Regions from separate parts of the Homo sapiens genome. Here all the other regions are linked to region 1. Evidence: promoter capture Hi-C in 16 types of primary human blood cells and fetal thymus (Javierre and others, 2016). All regions are on one chromosome and are shown on one strand. The core of a region is centred on a gene start or on the middle of the fragment in contact, and the rest is flanking DNA. Distances in the headings are between cores, read along the strand shown. Region 1 holds the start of ASPSCR1 (ASPSCR1 tether for SLC2A4, UBX domain containing). Region 2 overlaps HEXD (hexosaminidase D). Region 3 holds the start of MRPL12 (mitochondrial ribosomal protein L12).

What was found. Contacts are between HindIII fragments. The CHiCAGO score rates a contact against its expected background, and 5 or more counts as called.
Region 2: a contact is called between a fragment that was not itself captured here and the fragment with the promoter of ASPSCR1 in region 1, in 1 of 17 cell types (non-activated CD4 T cells). The highest score is 6.1, in non-activated CD4 T cells.
Region 3: the fragment with the promoter of MRPL12 here is called in contact with the fragment with the promoter of ASPSCR1 in region 1 in 12 of 17 cell types (erythroblasts, endothelial precursors, M0 macrophages and 9 more); the score reaches 13.4 in erythroblasts.

The regions. Positions count from the first base shown.
Region 1 is chr17:81,975,240-81,978,878 of GRCh38, reverse strand. ASPSCR1 (ASPSCR1 tether for SLC2A4, UBX domain containing) reads right to left here and starts at 1,250. Exons shown (of 16, transcript NM_024083.4): 1 at 1,131-1,250. The coding sequence starts at 1,232. LOC105371939 (a long non-coding RNA gene) reads left to right here and starts at 1,394. Exons shown (of 2, transcript XR_933953.4): 1 at 1,394-1,511; 2 at 1,922-2,911. It overlaps LOC124904087 (a long non-coding RNA gene), which reads right to left. Exons shown (of 2, transcript XR_007065951.1): 2 at 2,544-2,768. RefSeq lists a silencer at 755-1,614 and enhancers at 1,093-1,864, 1,865-2,638. The HindIII fragment of the contact is 4,025 bases long and covers 1-2,960 here.
Region 2 is chr17:82,421,771-82,425,409 of GRCh38, reverse strand. HEXD (hexosaminidase D) reads right to left here. Exons shown (of 13, transcript NM_001330542.2): 3 at 907-1,016. It overlaps HEXD-IT1 (HEXD intronic transcript 1), which reads right to left and starts at 85. Exons shown (of 1, transcript NR_170223.1): 1 at 1-85. RefSeq lists an enhancer at 592-1,427. The HindIII fragment of the contact is 7,971 bases long and covers 1-3,639 here.
Region 3 is chr17:81,701,894-81,704,616 of GRCh38, reverse strand. It overlaps MRPL12 (mitochondrial ribosomal protein L12), which reads right to left and starts at 1,250. Exons shown (of 5, transcript NM_002949.4): 1 at 1,042-1,250; 2 at 187-373. The coding sequence starts at 1,115. HGS (hepatocyte growth factor-regulated tyrosine kinase substrate) reads right to left here. Exons shown (of 22, transcript NM_004712.5): 22 at 2,496-2,723. RefSeq lists a silencer at 883-1,262 and enhancers at 1,163-1,766, 1,753-1,822, 1,767-2,370. The HindIII fragment of the contact is 11,363 bases long and covers 1-2,002 here.

The sequences.
Region 1 (3,639 bases), core at 1-2,500:
CCCTGTAGTTCTGCAACCTGCCTTAAACTTGCCTAGCACAAGCTACCCCCTGGCTCTGGCACGGTTCTGTGCACCTGCTGCCACTGCCTGCACCGCCTCCGCCCCTCTTCTCCATAAAAAGCCAAAGCCGTGGCCTTGCACCAAGGGGTCCCGCGCAGCCTCTGCGGGAGCGCCCCACTTCCGCACTCTGCACGCCTGGCACCAACAGCCTCCTGGCTGCGCCCTCCACCTGCCCAGGCCTGGGGACCCCACGCCGTGGGCTGCTCCCGCAAACTCCGAGTCGTGTGCACCTTCGGATCCTCACGGTCCCCCACGCAGCAGAGGCTCAATAAATACTTTTTTTTTTTTTTTTTGATATGGAGTCTCGCTCTGTCTCCCAGGCTGGAGTGCAGTAGCGCGATCTCGGCTCACTGCAAGCTCTGCCTCCCAGGTTCACGCCATTCTCCTGCCTCAGCCTCCCGAGTAGCTGGGACTACAGGCGCCCGCCACCACGCCCGGCTAAATTTTTTTGTATTTTTTTAGTACAGACGGGGTTTCACCGTTTTAGCCAGGATGGTCTTGATCTCTTGACCTCGTGATCCACCCGCCTCGGCATCCCACAGTGCTGGGATTTACAGGCGTGAGCCACCGCGCCCAGCCAATACTTTTACATTTAATTGATTCGCGGTCACAAGGTGCCCAAGTAAAAGTGCAGTGAGTGACTCGGCAAAAATCGCTTCCAGGCCCCACGGCCGGGACATCTGCCACCGCGCAACCCGGGCTCCCGCTCCGGGGGACGCCCCGGAATGGGAACGCGGGTCTAGGGCTCCACTCCTCCCTCTTCCCGGCGCCCTCGCGAGCTGGGCTCGGCCGGGCGCCGAGTACTCGATGCGGGTGACACGCGGCGCCGTTCTACCTCACCCCTGGGAAGGCTCGCCACCGCCCCGCCCCCACTCGGGACCCCCGGGACCCCCGGGACCCCAGCGGAAGCGCAGGTGACGGCGAGCAGGGGGCGGGGCCGCCGCTCAGGAGGCCGCTCATTGGCCGCCGAGGCCCCGCCCCCGAACACCGGGACGCCGACCGCAATGGGCGGGGCCTCGGCGCAGCGCCCCCCGCCCGCCTACCCGTCCGCCCCGGGCGGGCGGCCGCACCTGAAGCAGCACGGTGCTCGGCGTCACCTTCACCGTGTGGCGCCGGCCGTTCGGGGCCAGCACCGACACCGCGGAGCCTCCGCCGCCTGCCGGGGCCGCCATTTTCCGCTCACGTGACCCGCCGCCGGGCCGGCGTCAAACAACTTTATCGGCAACAGCCAGGACGCGCAGCCACGCGGCCAGGGGGCGGGGCCGCAGCGCACTTCCGGGTCCTGCCAGGCCCCGCCCTTTCCCCACCCACGGCGCCCCGGCCCCGCCCTTGGGCCGCCAAAGCCCGCGCCAGACCCGGAAAGCGCGGTCGTCCTCTGCCTCCGGGAAGCGCGGCTTGGATGGGCTCGCCGGGGCCAGGCTGGGCCGGGGCTGGGCGCGCGGTCACCCCCGGTGAGCGGCACTGAGCCCCGGGGTCCCAGCGGTCCGCGCTCGCCCACCCTCGCTTCGTCCCTGACACGTCCCCAGCTCGGTGCCCTGCTCTCCCCCGACCCTCCCGGCTTCCTCCACTCCAGCAGCTGAGCCTCTTCCCTGCCCACCTGTCCCTGTGGTCAGCGTCCACCTCCTGACCTTATGGTTTGGGGCAGTCCCCCCGCCCCTGTACGGATCCTCCCTGGGTGTTGGGACTCGTGGCCCTCAGTCTAGACCTGATTTCTTTCATCCTAAAATGGGAGTGCAGAATCTGGCAGCCCTAGGGCTGCCGCGACGGTCCCTAAACCTGAGGGTAGGAAAGGCGGGAGACCGGTTTCAGAACCGTGGGGTGAGCGAACTTGAGTCTCACCGGAGCTCCTGCCGACCCACAGGCACTCAAGGACTTCCCGCACCAACCCATGCTGAGGAGGGGCTTGGTGGCAGCCTCAGGAAACACTCCCATCGCCAGCCACCGCAGCAGGGAAAGCACCTGGCCTCACCAGCTCCAGGCTTCCAGAAGGAGCTGCCCTCCTGACTCGCAGCCGTCGAATGTGCTTAGCTCCCAGCACCTGGGCCACTCATGGACAGCACTCGCACGTGTTCCGCCCCGCCCCCCACCTCCATGGCTCAGCCGGGCCTTGGCACTCCTCTCTCCATGTGCCTGCCTGTCTCTGCGGACTCCTGGCTAGGGCTCAGCTGCCCAGTAGCCTGTGGAAGGGGGAACTGGTGCAGTTATCAGTCAATCCTCCCACAGGGCTGGGATTACACACGTGAGCCACCGCACCCGGCAGTCATTGCTGAGTCTAAGGACATCTCTGCATGGGTGCTGTTGTGCCTTCCTGTCGATGACATATCCATGTCACCCACACACACCTGTATGCTGACAAACACGGACATCTATGTACATTGGAGAAACCTGGGGAAAGCCCCAGGCTAGCCATAGCCCTCCCATCCAGCCAGCCAGTCCCATGCTCTGTGCAACCTCAGAACCTTACTGAGCCACACATCACCTGGTGGGTTTTAATTCTTTAGTGGCGTTTTTGAAGAGTCTGTTCCTATTTTCCTTAGACTGTCCCACAGTCTGGATCCTTGGTTAAACGTTTGGGGCAATGATGAAGGGAGGTGACAAGTCAGCAGGAGGTGCAGGACATCAGCGTGGCCATGAGTGAGGACGTGAAGTTGAACCACTTGGTCAGCTTTGGGTCTGCTGAATTCCTCCATGGTCAAGGTCCGTGGCTCCTTGTGGAGTAATTAAGGCATGCGTGAGGTCATTCTCTGAGACCACAAGCATCAAGTTTTCCCAATAACCATTTGCCCAACAGTTTTAGCATCAGTTAATGAGTAGATTCAGTGTTAAACCGTAAAGCTGCAAAATCATGGCTTCCCAAGTTTATTGTTTCTTCTACATTTATAGTCACTTTCGGTCAAGCTTCCCCTTCTTTAAAAAGTTATTAAATATTTGGGAGGCTGAGGCAGGAGAATGGCGTGAATCCGGGAGGCAGAGCTCGCAGTGAGCTGAGATCACGCCACTGTACTCCAGCCTGGGAGACGGAGCAAGACTCTGTCTCAAAAAAAAAAAAAAAAAAAAAATTAAATATGGCCAGGCGCGGTGGCTCACGCCTGTAATCCCAGCACTTTGGGAGGCTGAGTTGGGCAGATCACAAGGTCAAGAGATTGAGACCATCTTGGCCAACATGGTGAAATCCTGTCTCTACTTAAAAAAAAAGTACAAAAATTAGCCGGGCATGGCGGTGCGTGCCTGTAATCCCAGCTATTCGGGACACTGAGGTAGGAGAATCACTTGAACCTGGGAGATGGAGGTTGCAACGAGCCAAGATCGCACCATTGCACTCCAGCCTGGGCGACAAGAGTGAAACCCCATCTTGAAATATATATATTTATTAATATGAATTCATGTATTTTTTTCATTCAGTCAGCATTCTTTTTGATGCTCAAATTGGTCCGAATTTGGCCAGTGAGACCTCCTTTAAGCTGGCTCCTATGCTTTTTTTGATAGGAGGGATGATCTTTTATCCTGATATTATTTCAAACTTAGCCGAGCAAGGTGGCTCACACCTGTAGTCTTAGCTACTCCGGTGGCCGAGGCAGG
Region 2 (3,639 bases), core at 468-2,967, 450 kb before region 1:
TCTCTAGCTCAGCCTTCTACAGCCTCCTCCAGCCTTCTCCAGCCTCCTCTGACCTTCCCTGGCCTCCTCCAGCCTTCTCTAGCCCAGCCTTCTCTGGCCTTCTCTAACCTTATCTAGCCTTCTCTAACCTCTAGCCCAGCCTTCTCCAGCCTTCTCCAGCCTTCTCTAGCCTCCTCCGGCCTTCTCTAGCCCAGCCTCCTCCAGCCTCCTCCAGCCTTCTCCGGCCTCCTCCAGCCTCCTCCAGCCTTCTCTAGCCTCCTCCAGCCTTCTCCAGCCTTCTCTGGCCTCCTCCAGCCTCCTCCGGCCTTCTCTAGCCCAGCCTCCTCCAGCCTTCTCCAGCCTTCTCCAGCCTTCTCTGGCCTCCTCCAGCCTCCTCCAGCCTTCTCTAGCCTCCTCCAGCCTTCTCCGGCCTTCTCTAGCCCAGCCTTCTCTGGCCTTCTCTAACCTTCTGTAGTCCAGCCTTCTCCAGCCTTCTCCAGCCTTCTCTAGCCTTCTCCAGCTTTCTCTAGCCTTCTCTAGCCCAGCCTTCTCTGGCCTTCCTTCTCTGGCCTTCTCTAACCTTCTCTAACCTTCTCTAACCTTCTGTAGTCCAGCCTTCTCCCATCAACAGAAGAAACGCCTGCAGGACAGAGACAGGAACTGCAGCTCTTCCCTGTAGGGGGCGCTGCTGATGCTTACTTTCCCTTTAAATGTTTCAAAATTCTCTCCAGTGAATGTTTGAAATGAAACTTTGTTTTCATACAATTAAAGAGATGAATTTAAAAAGACAAAAAAGGAATGTACCCACCACTGTTCAGTTCCTGACTGTGCCACCCGCACCTCCAGGTTGCTGCTCCTCCTGCCCTGCGGAACCCCCCCTTCCCCGCTTTCACGCCGCGCCCCTGTACCTGCCACGGGCAGTGTTACCTGTAGGCGTACTTGGCCCTCAGCAGCCTCAGAGGGCCCTCGTAGGGAAACATGTCTTCATACTCAATGAGGAGGCCGTTTGCACCTAGCGCACGGAACAGAGGAAAAATCTGGGGGGTAAACAGGGAGGGGTTAGGAAGAAGTGGCTGCTGGAGCACGATGTGGCAAGTCCACAGCAGGGAGACGCCTTCCCTTTCAGCCTGTGGAGACTGTGGGAGTTGCTACTTCTATTTCTCCTGGGAACCTTAAATCCGGAATGTGTACTTTACGTTATGCCAAATGAAACTCCCCGTTCCAGTGACTATTTTGCACAGAAGGGGAGATATGCTATGAAACAGGGCTGCTACTCAACGCGCTGGTGGCTCAGCTTGGGAGGGACGGGTCCGGCCAGCAGGGAGCCACCAAGAAGCAGCTCTTCATGCACGGCGGCCCAGCAAGGCAGCCAGGCTGAGGGGCACCAGCAAGGCATGGGGGACAGGGCAGCCAGGCTGAAGGAGAATGGCAAGGCATGGGGGACGGGGCAGGAGGAGCCGGGGCAGGGGGAGCAGGGCTCTGAAGGGTTGGGGTCAGCACCTGGGGGAGGTGAGAGAGGGGTGCAGAACTCATTCGTTCCTGGTCTGTACTCATGGGGTCCCTTCCCCCTTATTCTCCTCCCCACTTCCTTGTCTTTCTCTCTTTTTTTTTTTTTTTTGAGATGGAGTCTCGCTCTCTCGCCCAGGCTGGAGTGGAGTGGCGTGATCTTGGCTCGTTGCAACCTCTGCCTCCCGGGTTCAAGCGATTCTCCTGCCCCAGCCTCCCGAGTAGCTGGGATTACAGGCGCCCGCCCCGATGCCCAGCTAATTTTTGTATTTTTAGTAGAGACGGGGTTTCACCATGTTGGCCAGGCTGGTCTCGAACTCCTGACCTCAGGTAATCTGCCCCTCGGCCTTCCAAAATGCTGGGATTACAGGTGTGAGCCACTGTGCCCGGCCTCTCTCTTTTTTTTAACAGATGGGGTCTCACTCTGTTGCCCAGGCTGGAGCGTGCTGGCATGATCATGGCTCGCTGCAGCACCCAACTCCTGGGCTCAAGTGATCCTCCAGCCTCAGCCTTCCAAGGAGCTGGGACTACAGGCACATGCTAGGCCTCCTGGATGACACACATGCAGGAGAACTAAGGAGCCCCAGCTGACAGTTGGGATGAACTGCCGGACATGGAAGGCCACGCGGACCATCAGAGGTTTCTAGATGTTACGGGGCTGTGACCACCTGAGGGCACCTCGGTCAGAAAAGCAGAATCACGCAGCCAACCCACAGAAACACAAGGGGTGATGAATGGGGACCTCAAGTTTGGGGAGATCTGTCACGCAGCAACAGATGATGGAAACAGGGACTCCAGCTGTGTGTAAGTTGGATCTTCTTTGCCTATATTCAATTGTCAGAACGCCTTTCCTTTCTTTTTTTTTTTGAGATGGAGTTTTGCTCTTGTCCCCCAGGATGGAGTGCAGTGGCACGATCTCAGCTCACCACAACCTCCGCCTCCCGGGTTCAAGCAATTCTCCTGCCTCAGTCTCCCGAGTAGCTGAGATTACAGGCACCTGACACCACGCCTGGCTAATTTTTGTATTTTTAATAGAGACAGGGTTTCACCATGTTGGTCAGGCTGGTCTCGAACTCCTGACCTCAGGTGATCCACCCTCCTCAGCCTCCCAAAGTGCTGGGATTATAGGCATGAGCCACCGCGCCTGGCCCAAGTCAAAATGCCTCTTCATCAGCTGTATGTAAGTTCAGTCTTCTTTGCCATATTCAATTTGTCAGAACGCCTTTTCATCTCTGTTTGCTTTTTTCTTTTCTGTCATCTGTTTCCAAATACTGCACTTTCCATGGTGTCTACTCACTTGTACACTTCTTATAGTTTAGTCTTCATTAAAAACATTGTTTTTTCCTTATAATTCATTTCTGAGCTCCACAGGCAATTTTTTACAACCTCCTTTTGTCTGATTACCACATTTCTGGGCTTTTTTTTTTTTAGACTGAGTCTTGCTCTATCGCCCAGGCTGGAGTGCAGTGGCACGATCTTGGCTCACTGCAACCTCCACCACCCAGGTTCAGGTGATTCTCATGCCTCAGCCTCCCAAGTAGGTGGGATTACAGTTGTGAGCCGCTGAGCCTGGCCTGGGCTTTTCTATTTCTGATTTATGCTGTTCTTTCACAGCTTCCGTCATCTTCTGAGTATCTTTTATCTTGTTATGAAATATTATGGAACAGTGTTTCCTGCTGGGTGGGCCTGTGTGTCTGGAGCACCTTCACTGCTGCAATGCTATTCAGATCATCTTCTTTTTTCTTTTTTTTTTTTTTTGAGACAGAGTCTCACTCTTGTCACCCAGGCTGGAGCGCAGTGGCACAATCTCGGCTTACTGCAACCTCCACCTCCCAGGTTCAAGTGATTCTCCTGCCTCAGCCTCTCGAGTAGCAGGATTACAGGCGCCGCCACCACACGGGGCTAATTTTTGGTATTTTTAGTAGAGACACTGTGTTGGCCAGGATGGTCTTCATCTCCTGACCTTGTGATCCACCTTCCTCGGCCTCCCAAAGTGCTGGGATTACAGGCGTGAGCCACCGTGCCTGGCCTTCTTTTTTCTTACCTATCTTTGTATGATGTTAAACAACACTCTTTTTTGCTTCTTTTTTTCTTTTTTTGAGATGGTGTCTTGCTCTGTCACCTTGGCTGGAGTGCAGTGGCGCAATCTTGGCT
Region 3 (2,723 bases), core at 1-2,500, 270 kb after region 1:
CAGTGTCCACAGCTGGCCCTCACACCAGCCGGAACCTACTGAGGAGGGGCAACTAGCCTGGCATGGACCTTGCACCTGGACAAACACACTTTTGACAATTTACCAAACTCCCAAAATACACCAGGAACAAAACACAGGGGCCCTGAAACTTCCAGCCCCTGGGTCTGTGCCACCCTCTCACGATACCTTCAGGAGCTCGTTGAGGTCTGAGATTTCCAAGAGAGTGAGGCTGGCGATGTCCTGGACCAGCTGCTGTATCTTGGGGGGGTACTCCTTGGGGGCGTTATCCAGGGGTGCACCAGCGAGGGCCTCACACCTCTGATGGCCGCTGCTCCTCATATGTCGCACGGCACAGACACATGGCACCTGTCGCCTAGCCCCCACCCCCAATTAAAACAGACTTGTCAGTCCTGGAATGGAAGGGGCTGCAGAAACCAGAGGGGCAGGACAACTGGGGGACTGGTGGGTGCCATAAGCTCAGGCTGGTAATCACTAGGGCCGGAAATTACCTAGCTCCTTGGTCCCAGTCCAGGGTTCTCAGACCTCAAGGGGTCCGTATTGATAAGATTTGCAAGTTACTTTAAATTCTTCAAAGAGCCTTAGAAAGCCACGTGTTTATTTGCAGCCATACCACTCAAACCTCAAGTTTCTGGTTTGAATGAACTACATCAACCCAGCGGTGGCGAAACTATTACTTAGGTGCATCTTCCTGCGCAAAGCCTCCCAAAACATGGGGGCCCCTGGCCGCAAAACGCCGCACCCACGGATGGGCCTTTGCTGCGGAAAAGGCTGAGGCCAAGGGAGGAGCAGGGAATCGTCCAAGGTCATCTGGGGCCGACCCCGGCGCTTTCCACGGCCCAGGAGGGAAGGGGCGTGCGCACCGGGAGGCCTCCTCCCCGCGCCCCCGATGGGACCCCCAAGCCCGGCCTGGCCGCTGCAGGGAGGCCGGCCCCGCCGCCCTCCTCGCCCGGATCGACCCCTCAGTGCCCGGCTGCCCCCTAACCCGCCTGCCGGCCCGGACCGCCCCAGGATCCCGCGTACCTGGCAAGGCGGAACGCAGCGGCCCGAAGCCCAAGGCAAGGCCCCCACAGGGGGCGAGCGGCCGCCGGCAGCATCGGTCCGCGGGCTGGAAGGTCACACGCGGTTCCCCGGGAGGAGGCGACGCTCTAGCCGCCTCGGCCGCCGGGCATTCGAGCTGGGGAGGAACGCTCTAGCCGCCACGGCTGCCGGGCATTCGAGCCGGAAATGACGCTCTAGCCGTACCTCGCGCTAGCCTCGTCTCACCCTGAGATTACCCACAAGGCGGCGCGCTGCGCAGACGCAAAAGCGTCGTCTGTGGCGGCAGCTAGACATCGGGCGACCCTCGTCCCGCCAGGTTTTGGGGTCGCGCAAACGAGCGACGGGGGCTGGGGCTCCGGATTCAGGTGTTCTTTCTTCAGCGCTCACGGGTTTCTGTCCGTACGCGATGCGAGCGAACGTCGCGGTCGAGGCTAGGGCCCCGAAGCCCGCAGTAATCCACGTCTCCCGCCCGCTCCGGGCCCCCAGTGCCGCCGTCGCGGGCGGAGGCGCGAGGTCTGGGCTTTGGCGCCTTCGCAGCCGCAGGCGACATCCTCTTTCCTAGCTAAAGCCCCAAACGCCCAGGTGGCTTCCTGGGAGAGCACGGCTGAGCCTCCGCCTTCAGATCAGAACAGGCAGAGCCTCCAAGGGCGGCTTGGGCCCAGTGCCTGCTTATCCTGCCCGTCTCTCCACACTTCTTCTTTCCCTGTCCGTTGGAGTCCATTCCTTCCTGGAAAAGCCAAAGCCGCGCTCCCCTAAGAGGCCTGGATGTGAAGGTGAGTGAGACGCCCTGGCCTCTGGGTGCAAAGGCCGGCGCCTGCCGCTTTCAACACTCAGGAGGCGCGTTTCAGCCCCGCTGGCCCCCGGCCGCAGACTCGGAGCGCTGAGCTCCCACCGTTCCCATCACCCGACTCCCTTCCCAGGAATGAGGAGCACCCGGGAAGCTTCAGCCACTACACGAAGGAGGCGCCAAGCCCAAACTCCTCCCCAGCTACCGGCGGGGTCAGTGCAGAGCCGCGGAGGGCACACATGAACCCTGGCACGCAGCCTCAGGGAGGGGCAGGCTGGAAATGACCCTGCCTGCAGCTGGGCCATCAGCCTGACCACCTGCCCCCTGAGCAAACGTTGATGCAGGTCGGGCGCGGTGGCTCATGCCTGTAATCCCAGCACTTTAGGAGCCCGAGGCAGGTGGATCACCTGAGGTTAGGCGTTCACGACCAGCCTGGCCAACATGGTGAAACACCGTCGCTACTAAAAATACAAAAACTAGCCAGGCATGGTAATGGGGTGCACCTGTAGTCCAGCTACTCGGGAGGCTGAGGCCCGAGAATCGCTTGAACCCAGGAGGCGGAGCTTGCAGTGAGCGGAGATCACCACTCCAGCCTGGGTGACAGAGTGAGACTCCATCTCAAAAAAATTAATTAAAGAAAAAACGCTGATGCTTTCTGAAATACATTTTATTATCGCTGTACCATTCTGGGGCACTGGAGATGGCAGCTGAGAAGCAGAGAAGCTGGAGACCTGAAGCCTCCACCCTTGGCTGTGGCTGCCGAGAGAGGCCCCTGCAGAGGGAGCCCCAGGCCACACCCAGACACCACAGCCAGCTCACAGTGCGGCCAGAGGGCACAGGCTGCTTGGGGGGTGAGGGTCCCCATTCCTGCCACCTC